Regions from separate parts of the Homo sapiens genome. Here all the other regions are linked to region 2. The links are contacts of gene promoters, found by promoter capture Hi-C in human tissues and cell types (Jung and others, 2019). All regions are on one chromosome and are shown on one strand. The core of a region is centred on a gene start or on the middle of the fragment in contact, and the rest is flanking DNA. Distances in the headings are between cores, read along the strand shown.

Region 1 (2,805 bases), core at 182-2,681, 340 kb after region 2:
GCAAGTCCCTTCTTGCTTGAGGCCCTGGGCCGGGCCCGTCCAAAGCCTCTGTTCTGGGACTTCCTGAGTAACGGTTGCATCCCCAGGGAAATGACGCACAGATGGTTATCAGCGACCCACATTTCTCAGAAGAGAGAGAACAGGAAGGTGGGGGCAGGGTTCAGGCTTTTGTTACGGTGCGTGGGGCTGAGTCACAGATGGAGGGGAGGACGTGTGCTCTGGGAACAGCCCTCATTCCCATCTGTGTGGCCACTGGACATGCCCATGGCCAGCCAGAGCACAGGAGCCCCATAGCACAGATGGGAAAACTGAGTTTTGGAGATGTTTGGCAATTTCCTCCGCCGGGTCGCCCAGCCAGCACCAGGGCACATCTCAGATCTGTCCAACCTGCTCCCCTCTAATATGGGGGTAGAAAGCAGGCAGCCCAGCACAGTAGAAGCTTGGGAAAGTCCCCGCTCCTCCCTGGATCTCAGGCTTCTCATCTGTAAAATGGGCGTAAGACTCATCCTTGCCTCGCGGGAATGACATGGCAAATCCACGAGAGGCTAGCACCTATTCTTGCTGTCGCTATTATGGATCTTGGCATATCCCAGACGTGATGGGGGTTGGGGGTGTCACGGAGCAGGCTCCTGAGCTCTGAAAGGGGGCACCTCGGTTCCCTGTAGGATCGTGGACGTCGGGGGCCAGAAGTCAGAGCGTAAGAAATGGATCCATTGTTTCGAGAACGTGATCGCCCTCATCTACCTGGCCTCACTGAGTGAATACGACCAGTGCCTGGAGGAGAACAACCAGGAGGTGCGCCACCGCCTCCCTCGCCCTGCCCACTTGTTGGCCCAGGGACCCTCACCTGAGCAGGAAGCTCTGGTGCAGAAAGGGAGGGATCCCTGCTCTTGAACGGGCCTGTGTGTGCCCAGCATGGCTATGAACTTGACCCTTCAGCCTTTTGTGGTCAGATTGCAGCAACCCAAGACACAGACCTACAGCATTTGTTTGGTCAGGACCCCAGACACACACACACACACACACACACACACACACACACACACTACAGTGCACACACGCACATACACAATGCATGCACACAAACACGCACAGACACGTGCATAATACATGCACATACACACGTGCACACACGGGACACATGTACACACGCAGTGCACATGCACAACACATGCACACGAACACACATGCACCACACACATGCACACTTGCATGCACTCACGTGCACAATACACGCATATGTACACATGCGCACACACATGAACACACACATGCACACACACAGTACACACATGCACACGCACACACAGGCACACACACGCACACACAGGCACACAGGCACACACATGCGTGCACACACACATGCACGCACACGCACAGGCTGGAGTGCAGTGGCGCGATCTCGGCTCACTGGAAACTCCGCCTCCCGGGTTCACACCATTCTCCTGCCTCAGCCTCCGGAGTAGGTGGGATTACAGGCACCCGCCACCACGCTCGGCTAATTTTTTTTTTGTATTCTTAGAAGAGAGGGGGTTTCACCATGTTAGCCAGGATGGTCTCAATCTCCTGACCTCGTGATCCGCCCGCCTCGGCCTCCCAAAGTGCTGGGATTACAGGCGTGAGCCACTGTGCCCAGCCAATAGCCTCTTTTAATAAGTACACCAGTCGTCTAGGATCAGGGCCCACCCTACTCCAGTACGACCTCATCTGGGTTAATTCCTCGTGTGATGGCCCTGTTTCCAAAGAAGGTCACAAACTGAGGTTCTAGGGGGTTAGGTCTTGAACGTATGAATTTTGGGGAAATATGATGTACCCCATAACACAAGGCATTTGAGACCTTATTGTACTTTTTTTTTTGAGATGGAGTCTCGCTTTTGTCGCCCAGGTTAGAGTGCAGTGGCGCGATCTCAGCTCACTGCAACCTCCGCCTCCCGGGTTCAAGCGATTTTCCTGCCTCAGCCTCCCGAGTAGCTGGGTTTACAGGCACCTGCCATCATGCCCGGCTAATTTTTTGTATTTTTAGTAGAAACGGGGTTTCACCATGTTAGCCAGGCTGGTCTCCAACTCCTGGCCTCAGGTGATCTGCCCGCCTTGGCCTCCCAAAGTGCTAGGATTACAGCCGTGAGCTGCCGCGCCCGGCCAGGTCTCCCTCTTCTTATGAGGACAGCAGTCACGGACTTGAGGGCCACCGTATTCTAGTATTGCCTCACCTTAACGACCTCTTCAAAGACCCTATCTCCAGGCCAGGTGCAGTGGTTCATGCCTATAACCCCAGCACGCTGGGAGGCCAGGAGTTCAAGAATCTCTCTCCAGATAAGGTCACACTCTGAAGCTCTGGGGGGACATGAATTTCGGGAGGACACACTTCCAACCAGCACAGGCACAAAACCATGTCAGGCACACCCAGGCAGCTGTCCATATGGAAACACGGGCACACCCGCCTCAGCCCCAGCCAGGCAGATAGGGGTGAGCCCATGCCCCTGGAGCCAACAGCCCCGTCTCCGCGATGGGAGGGTTTCCTGTCCCACCTGGCTGGTTGAAGCACTAACCTGCTTCTGCCCCCAACACAGAACCGCATGAAGGAGAGCCTCGCATTGTTTGGGACTATCCTGGAACTACCCTGGTTCAAAAGCACATCCGTCATCCTCTTTCTCAACAAAACCGACATCCTGGAGGAGAAAATCCCCACCTCCCACCTGGCTACCTATTTCCCCAGTTTCCAGGGTAAGTAATTCTAGAACTTTCTATACCCTTCAACTCCCAAAAGCAGCTCCGAAGAGAGATGCTAATCCAGACTCTACTTCA
Region 2 (3,000 bases), core at 273-2,772:
GTGACAAGGGTGACTAAGAACAGAGCAGGTGACCAAGGATAACTAAGGTCAGAGCAGGTGACAAGGGTGACTAAGAACAGAGCAGGTGACCAAGGATAACTAAGGTCAGAGCAGGTGACAAGGATGACTAAGGTCAGAGCAGGTGACCAAGGATGACTAAGGTCAGAGCAGGTGACCAAGGATGACTAAGGTCAGAGCAGGTGACAAGGATGACTAAGGTCAGAGCAGGTGACCAAGGATGACTAAGGTCAGAGCAGGTGACCAAGGGTGACTAAGGTCAGAGCAGGTGATAGGGGCTAGGAGGGGTTGTTTACTGAAACTAGGGGCAAGGAAACGAAAAGAACGAGGAAGTTAAAGTTTAAAATGAAGAACAAAGAATAGGTGGCCGGGCGCGGTGGCTCACGCCTGTAATCCCAGCACTTTGGGAGGCTGAGGCAGGCGGATCACGAGGTCAGGAGATCGAGACCATCCTGGCTAACACGGTGAAACTCCGTCTCTACTAAAAATACAAAAAAATTAGCCGGGCGTGGTGGCGGGCGCCTGTGGTCCCAGCTGCTTGGGAGGCTGAGGCAGGAGAATGGCGTGAACCTGGGAGGCGGAGCTTGCAGTGAGCCGAGATCGCGCCGCTGCACTCCAGCCTGGGCGACAGAGCGAGACTCCATCTCAAAAAAAAAAAAAAAAAGAACAGGGGAGCTGAATATACGGAAACATTGGTTCTTTGGAGAGGAGCTCATAACTGATTGTACTTAACAATTTACAGGCTAAAACCTTTGAAGAGGAATTTGTTGTATCCTACAACAGTATATTAATTATAGTAGTTTTACTATTTTAATTTCTCATAAATAACAATCAGTAGAATATTAAATAAATATTTAAACAATAATTTAATTTGGCTGGGCGTGGTGGCTCACGCCTGTAATCCCAGCACTTTGGGAGGCCAAGGCGGGCAGATCACTGGAAGTCAGGAGTTCGAGACCAGCCTGGCCAACATGGTGAAACCGCGTCGCTACCAAAAATATAAAAAATTAGCCGAGTGTGGTTGTGCACGCCCGTAATCCCAGCTACTTGGGAGACTGAGGCAGGATAATCGCTTGAACCCGAGGGGGCGGAGGTTTCAGTGACCTGAGATCATGCCATTGCACTCCAGCCTGGGCGACAAGAGCGAAACTCAGTCTCAAAAACAAACAACAATTACTTAAGCAATCATTTTAATAAGTATGTAATACATTATACGTTTATATAACTTGCTTAATAAATAATAGTAGTTATTAATATCCAATGGCAAGCCGCCGGGAAACGACGGAGCTGGGATTTGAGGATTGGCTCCGCGAACCCCACAACACCCGGGGACTCCAGCGAACCACACGGGGTGGATCCAACAGCCGCAGGGGCATCGTGGTCCTGCGGAGACGCCGCCCGCCCGGAGGCGGCGCTGTGACCCAGGTTGGAGAGTCAGGAGCCCAGCGCCGCGCTGCGGGGCCTGCTGGGACTTGTAGTTCGCAGGTTCGGGGTGCGCAGGCGCAGTGCCGAGTTTACCTCTGCGCGCGTCGGGGTTGGTGGCGGCGGCTGCGGCGAGTTCCTGAGGGGCGCCTGCGGGGGGCGTCCGCTCCGAGCGCCGAGGAGCCGAGCGGAGGAGGCGTCCCAGGGACACGCAGGGGAGGCCGGCCGGCCTGCACGGGGCGCTCCCGCCTCGGGGGCCCTGTCTGGCGCCTCAGCGCGCGCCCCGATGGTCACCTGCGCCCACCTGGGCCGGCGCGCGCGGCTCCCGGCAGCTCAGCCGTAAGTGCCGCCGCCTCCCGCGCCGCGACCTCCGTGCCGGGCCTGCCGGGGCTCTGGTGGGGCTGGGTCTGGCGGGGCCGGGTGGCCGGGGCATGACCCTGTCGCGATAGGGTCCCCACGGGAGGGTCGGGAGCCGGCAGCTCGCCCAGGGCCCCAACGCCCAGGATGGCACGGTCTGCCCTTGCCCTGTGAAAACGCCCCTGGGTGAGAGACGCATAAGCTTTCCGAGGCCCAGCCTGCAAGGAGAGGGAGAAGACGCATTGACTCTACCCTAAAGGCAGAGAGGGGCTGCCACGCTCGCACTGCAGTGAGGCCACATCAGAGGGTCTGAGCGAGGGGCGGTCCTGCCCTCCAGGGGACACCGGGCGATGTCTGGGGACGTCTGTGGTTGTCATAACTGGGGGCAGTTCCTGGCATGGAGTAGGTGGAGGCCAGGGATGCAACTCAGCACCCTGCCCAGCCCAGAGAATGACCCAGGCTCCAGTGTCCACAGCGCCCTGAGGGAGAGACCTCACTTATACGTTAGCACCGCTGTCCTGGTGATAAGACAGCAAGGGTCCTTTTTTTTTTTTTTTTGAGACGGAGTCTGGAGTGCAATGGCATGATCTCGGCTCACTGCAACCTCCGCCTCCCGGGTTCAAGCCATTGTCCTGCCTCAGCCTCCCAAGTAGCTGGGATTACAGGCGTATGCCACCACGCCCGGCTAATTTTTGCATTTTTAGTAGAGACGGGGTTTCACCATGTTGGCCAGGCTGGTCTCGAACTCCCACCTCAGGTGATCCACCCGCCTCAGCCTCCCAAAGTGCTGGGATTACAGGCGTGAGCCACCGCGCAGCTGCAAGGGTCTATTCTGTTTATACCCACCACCCATGTTGAGGAATGAGGGAGGCAGCTGACCTTTCTGCTGCTCTAGCAACCCCAACCTCCCTGAACTCTCCCCTACCCAAACAGGTTGGTTTCTTTTTCTTCTTCTTTTTTTTTTCTTGAGACAGTCTCGCCCTATTGCCCAGGCTGGAGTGCAGTTGCACGATCTCGGCTCACTGCATCCACCTCGTGGGTTCAAGTGATTCTCCTGCCTCAGCCTCCCAAGTAGCTGGGATTACAGGTGCACGCCACCCCGCCTGGCTAATTTTTATATTTTTAGTAGATACAGAGTTTCTCCATGTTGGCCAGCCAGGCTGGTATCGAACTCCTGACCTCAGGTGATCCACCTACCTCGGC
Region 3 (2,953 bases), core at 454-2,953, 360 kb after region 2:
ATGCCTGTGTTCTCATGGGATGCCTGTGCCCCTCATGGGATGCCTGTGCCCTCATGGGACACCTGTGTTCTCATGGGACACCTGTGCCCTCATGGGACGCCTGTGTTCTCATGGGACGCCTGTGCCCTCATGGGATGCCTGTGCCCTCATGGGACGCCTGTGACCTCATGGGATGCCTGTGTTCTCATGGGACGCCTGTGTTCTCATGGGACGCCTGTGCCCTCATGGGACGCCTGTGTTCTCATGGGACGCCTGTGCCCTCATGGGATGCCTGTGCCCTCATGGGATGCCTGTGCCCTCATGGGACGCCTGTGTTCTCATGGGACGCCTGTGCCCCTCATGGGACGCCTGTGCCCTCATGGGACGCCTGTGCCCTCATGGGACGCCTGTGTTCTCATGGGACGCCTGTGCCCCTCATGGGACGCCTGTGCCCTCATGGGACGCCTGTGCCCTCATGGGACGCCTGTGTTCTCATGGGACGCCTGTGCCCCTCATGGGACGCCTGTGTTCTCATGGGACTCCTGTGCCCTCATGGGACGCCTGTGTTCTCATGGGACGCCTGTGCCCCTCATGGGACGCCTGTGTTCTCATGGGACGCCTGTGCCCTCATGGGACGCCTGTGTTCTCATGGGACGCCTGTGCCCCTCATGGGACACCTGTGTTCTCATGGGACGCCTGTGCCCTCATGGGACGCCTGTGTTCTCATGGGACGCCTGTGCCTCTCATGGGACACCTGTGTTCTCATGGGACGCCTGTGCCCTCATGGGACGCCTGTGCCCTCATGGGACACCTGTGTTCTCATGGGACGCCTGCATTCTCATGGGACGCCTGTGCCCTCATGGGACACCTGTGTTCTCATGGGACACCTGTGTTCTCATGGGATGCCTGTGCCCTCATGGGATGCCTGTACCCCTCATGGGACGCCTGTGTTCTCATGGGATGCCTGTACCCTCATGGGACGCCTGTACCCCTCATGGGACATCTGTGCCCTCATGGGATGCCTGTGCCCCTCATGGGATGCCTGTGCCCTCATGGGACGCCTGTGTTCTCATGGGATGCCTGTACCCTCATGGGACGCCTGTGCCCCTCATGGGATGCCTGTGTTCTCATGGGATGCCCGTGCCCCGCATGGGACGCCTGAATTCTCATGGGACACCTGTGCCCTCATGGGACACCTGTGTTCTCATGGGACGCCTGTGTTCTCATGGGACACCTGTGCCCTCATGGGACGCCTGTGTTCTCATGGGACGCCTGTGCCCTCATGGGACGCCTGTGTTCTCATGGGACGCCTGTGCCCTCATGGGACGCCTGTGCCCTCATGGGACGCCTGTGTTCTCATGGGACGCCTGTGCCCCTCATGGGACGCCTGTGCCCTCATGGGACGCCTGTGTTCTCATGGGACGCCTGTGCCCCTCATGGGACGCCTGTGTTCTCATGGGACGCCTGTGCCCTCATGGGACGCCTGTGCCCTCATGGGACGCCTGTGCCCTCATGGGACGCCTGTGTTCTCATGGGACGCCTGTGCCCTCATGGGACGCCTGTGCCCTCATGGGACGCCTGTGTTCTCATGGGACGCCTGTGCCCTCATGGGACGCCTGTGCCCTCATGGGACGCCTGTGTTCTCATGGGACGCCTGTGTTCTCATGGGACGCCTGTGCCCCTCATGGGACGCCTGTGTTCTCATGGGACGCCTGTGCCCTCATGGGACGCCTGTGTTCTCATGGGACGCCTGTGCCCCTCATGGGACGCCTGTGTTCTCATGGGACGCCTGTGCCCCTCATGGGACACCTGTGCCCTCATGGGACGCCTGTGCCCTCATGGGACGCCTGTGTTCTCATGGGACGCCTGTGCCCCTCATGGGACGCCTGTGCCCTCATGGGACGCCTGTGTTCTCATGGGACGCCTGTGCCCCTCATGGGACACCTGTGTTCTCATGGGACGCCTGTGCCCTCATGGGACGCCTGTGTTCTCATGGGACGCCTGTGCCCCTCATGGGACACCTGTGTTCTCATGGGACGCCTGTGCCCTCATGGGACGCCTGTGTTCTCATGGGACGCCTGTGCCCCTCATGGGACACCTGTGTTCTCACGGGACGCCTGTGCCCTCATGGGACGCCTGTGTTCTCATGGGACGCCTGTGCCCCTCATGGGACGCCTGTGTTCTCATGGGACGCCTGTGCCCCTCATGGGACACCTGTGCCCTCATGGGACGCCTGTGCCCTCATGGGACGCCTGCGTTCTCATGGGACGCCTGCATTCTCATGGGACGCCTGTGCCCTCATGGGACACCTGTGTTCTCATGGGACACCTGTGTTCTCATGGGATGCCTGTGCCCTCATGGGATGCCTGTACCCCTCATGGGACGCCTGTGTTCTCATGGGATGCCTGTACCCTCATGGGACGCCTGTACCCCTCATGGGACATCTGTGCTCTCATGGGATGCCTGTGCCCCTCATGGGATGCCTGTGCCCTCATGGGACGCCTGCATTCTCATGGGACACCTGTGCCCTCATGGGATGCCTGTACCCTCATGGGACGCCTGTGCCCCTCATGGGATGCCTGTGTTCTCATGGGATGCCTGTGCCCCTCATGGGACGCCTGCATTCTCATGGGACACCTGTGCCCTCATGGGATGCCTGTACCCTTCATGGGACGCCTGTGTGTGGTTGCCATGATTACTACCTGAGACTGTCACTACGACAGTTACTATTGTTACTACTTGAGACCATCATTACAAGACTGAACGAAGGGACGAATGTAGAAATGAAAACTTAAGACAGAAGAAACTGTTTTAAAGGAAGGGACCAGGGGAAGAAAAAGAGAGCTCCCTGCTTCTAGTGAGCAAAGGCAGCCCCCCAAGCTTCTACAGCCCTTCGTACTTATTGGGTAGAAAGCAGGGGGAGGAAACGATTGGCCAGCTGCTTGATTGTTCACACGTTCACGTTATTGCTAAC

Evidence for each region. The method cuts DNA at HindIII sites, captures the fragments that hold promoters and counts their contacts. A contact is called where the count stands out against the background at its distance.
Region 1: a contact is called between a fragment that was not itself captured here and the fragment with the promoter of ZNF554 in region 2, in 2 of the 25 tissues and cell types used here (dorsolateral prefrontal cortex and mesendoderm cells).
Region 3: a fragment that was not itself captured here is called in contact with the fragment with the promoter of ZNF554 in region 2 in 2 of the 25 tissues and cell types used here (H1 embryonic stem cells and mesenchymal stem cells).

What each region holds. Positions count from the first base shown.
Region 1 is chr19:3,155,158-3,157,962 of GRCh38, forward strand. GNA15 (G protein subunit alpha 15) reads left to right here. Exons shown (of 7, transcript NM_002068.4): 5 at 666-795; 6 at 2,571-2,724. GNA15-DT (GNA15 divergent transcript) reads right to left here and starts at 18. Exons shown (of 4, transcript NR_110670.1): 1 at 1-18. RefSeq lists enhancers at 1-591, 1-208, 249-338. The HindIII fragment of the contact is 4,542 bases long and covers 1-2,805 here.
Region 2 is chr19:2,818,346-2,821,345 of GRCh38, forward strand. ZNF554 (zinc finger protein 554) reads left to right here and starts at 1,523. Exons shown (of 5, transcript NM_001102651.2): 1 at 1,523-1,779. The coding sequence starts at 1,727. RefSeq lists a silencer at 1,562-2,001 and an enhancer at 1,934-2,627. The HindIII fragment of the contact is 22,652 bases long and covers 1-3,000 here.
Region 3 is chr19:3,173,222-3,176,174 of GRCh38, forward strand. No RefSeq gene overlaps it. Among named protein-coding and RNA genes, the nearest start is that of S1PR4, 4.1 kb to the right of the region's middle. The HindIII fragment of the contact is 3,498 bases long and covers 1-2,953 here.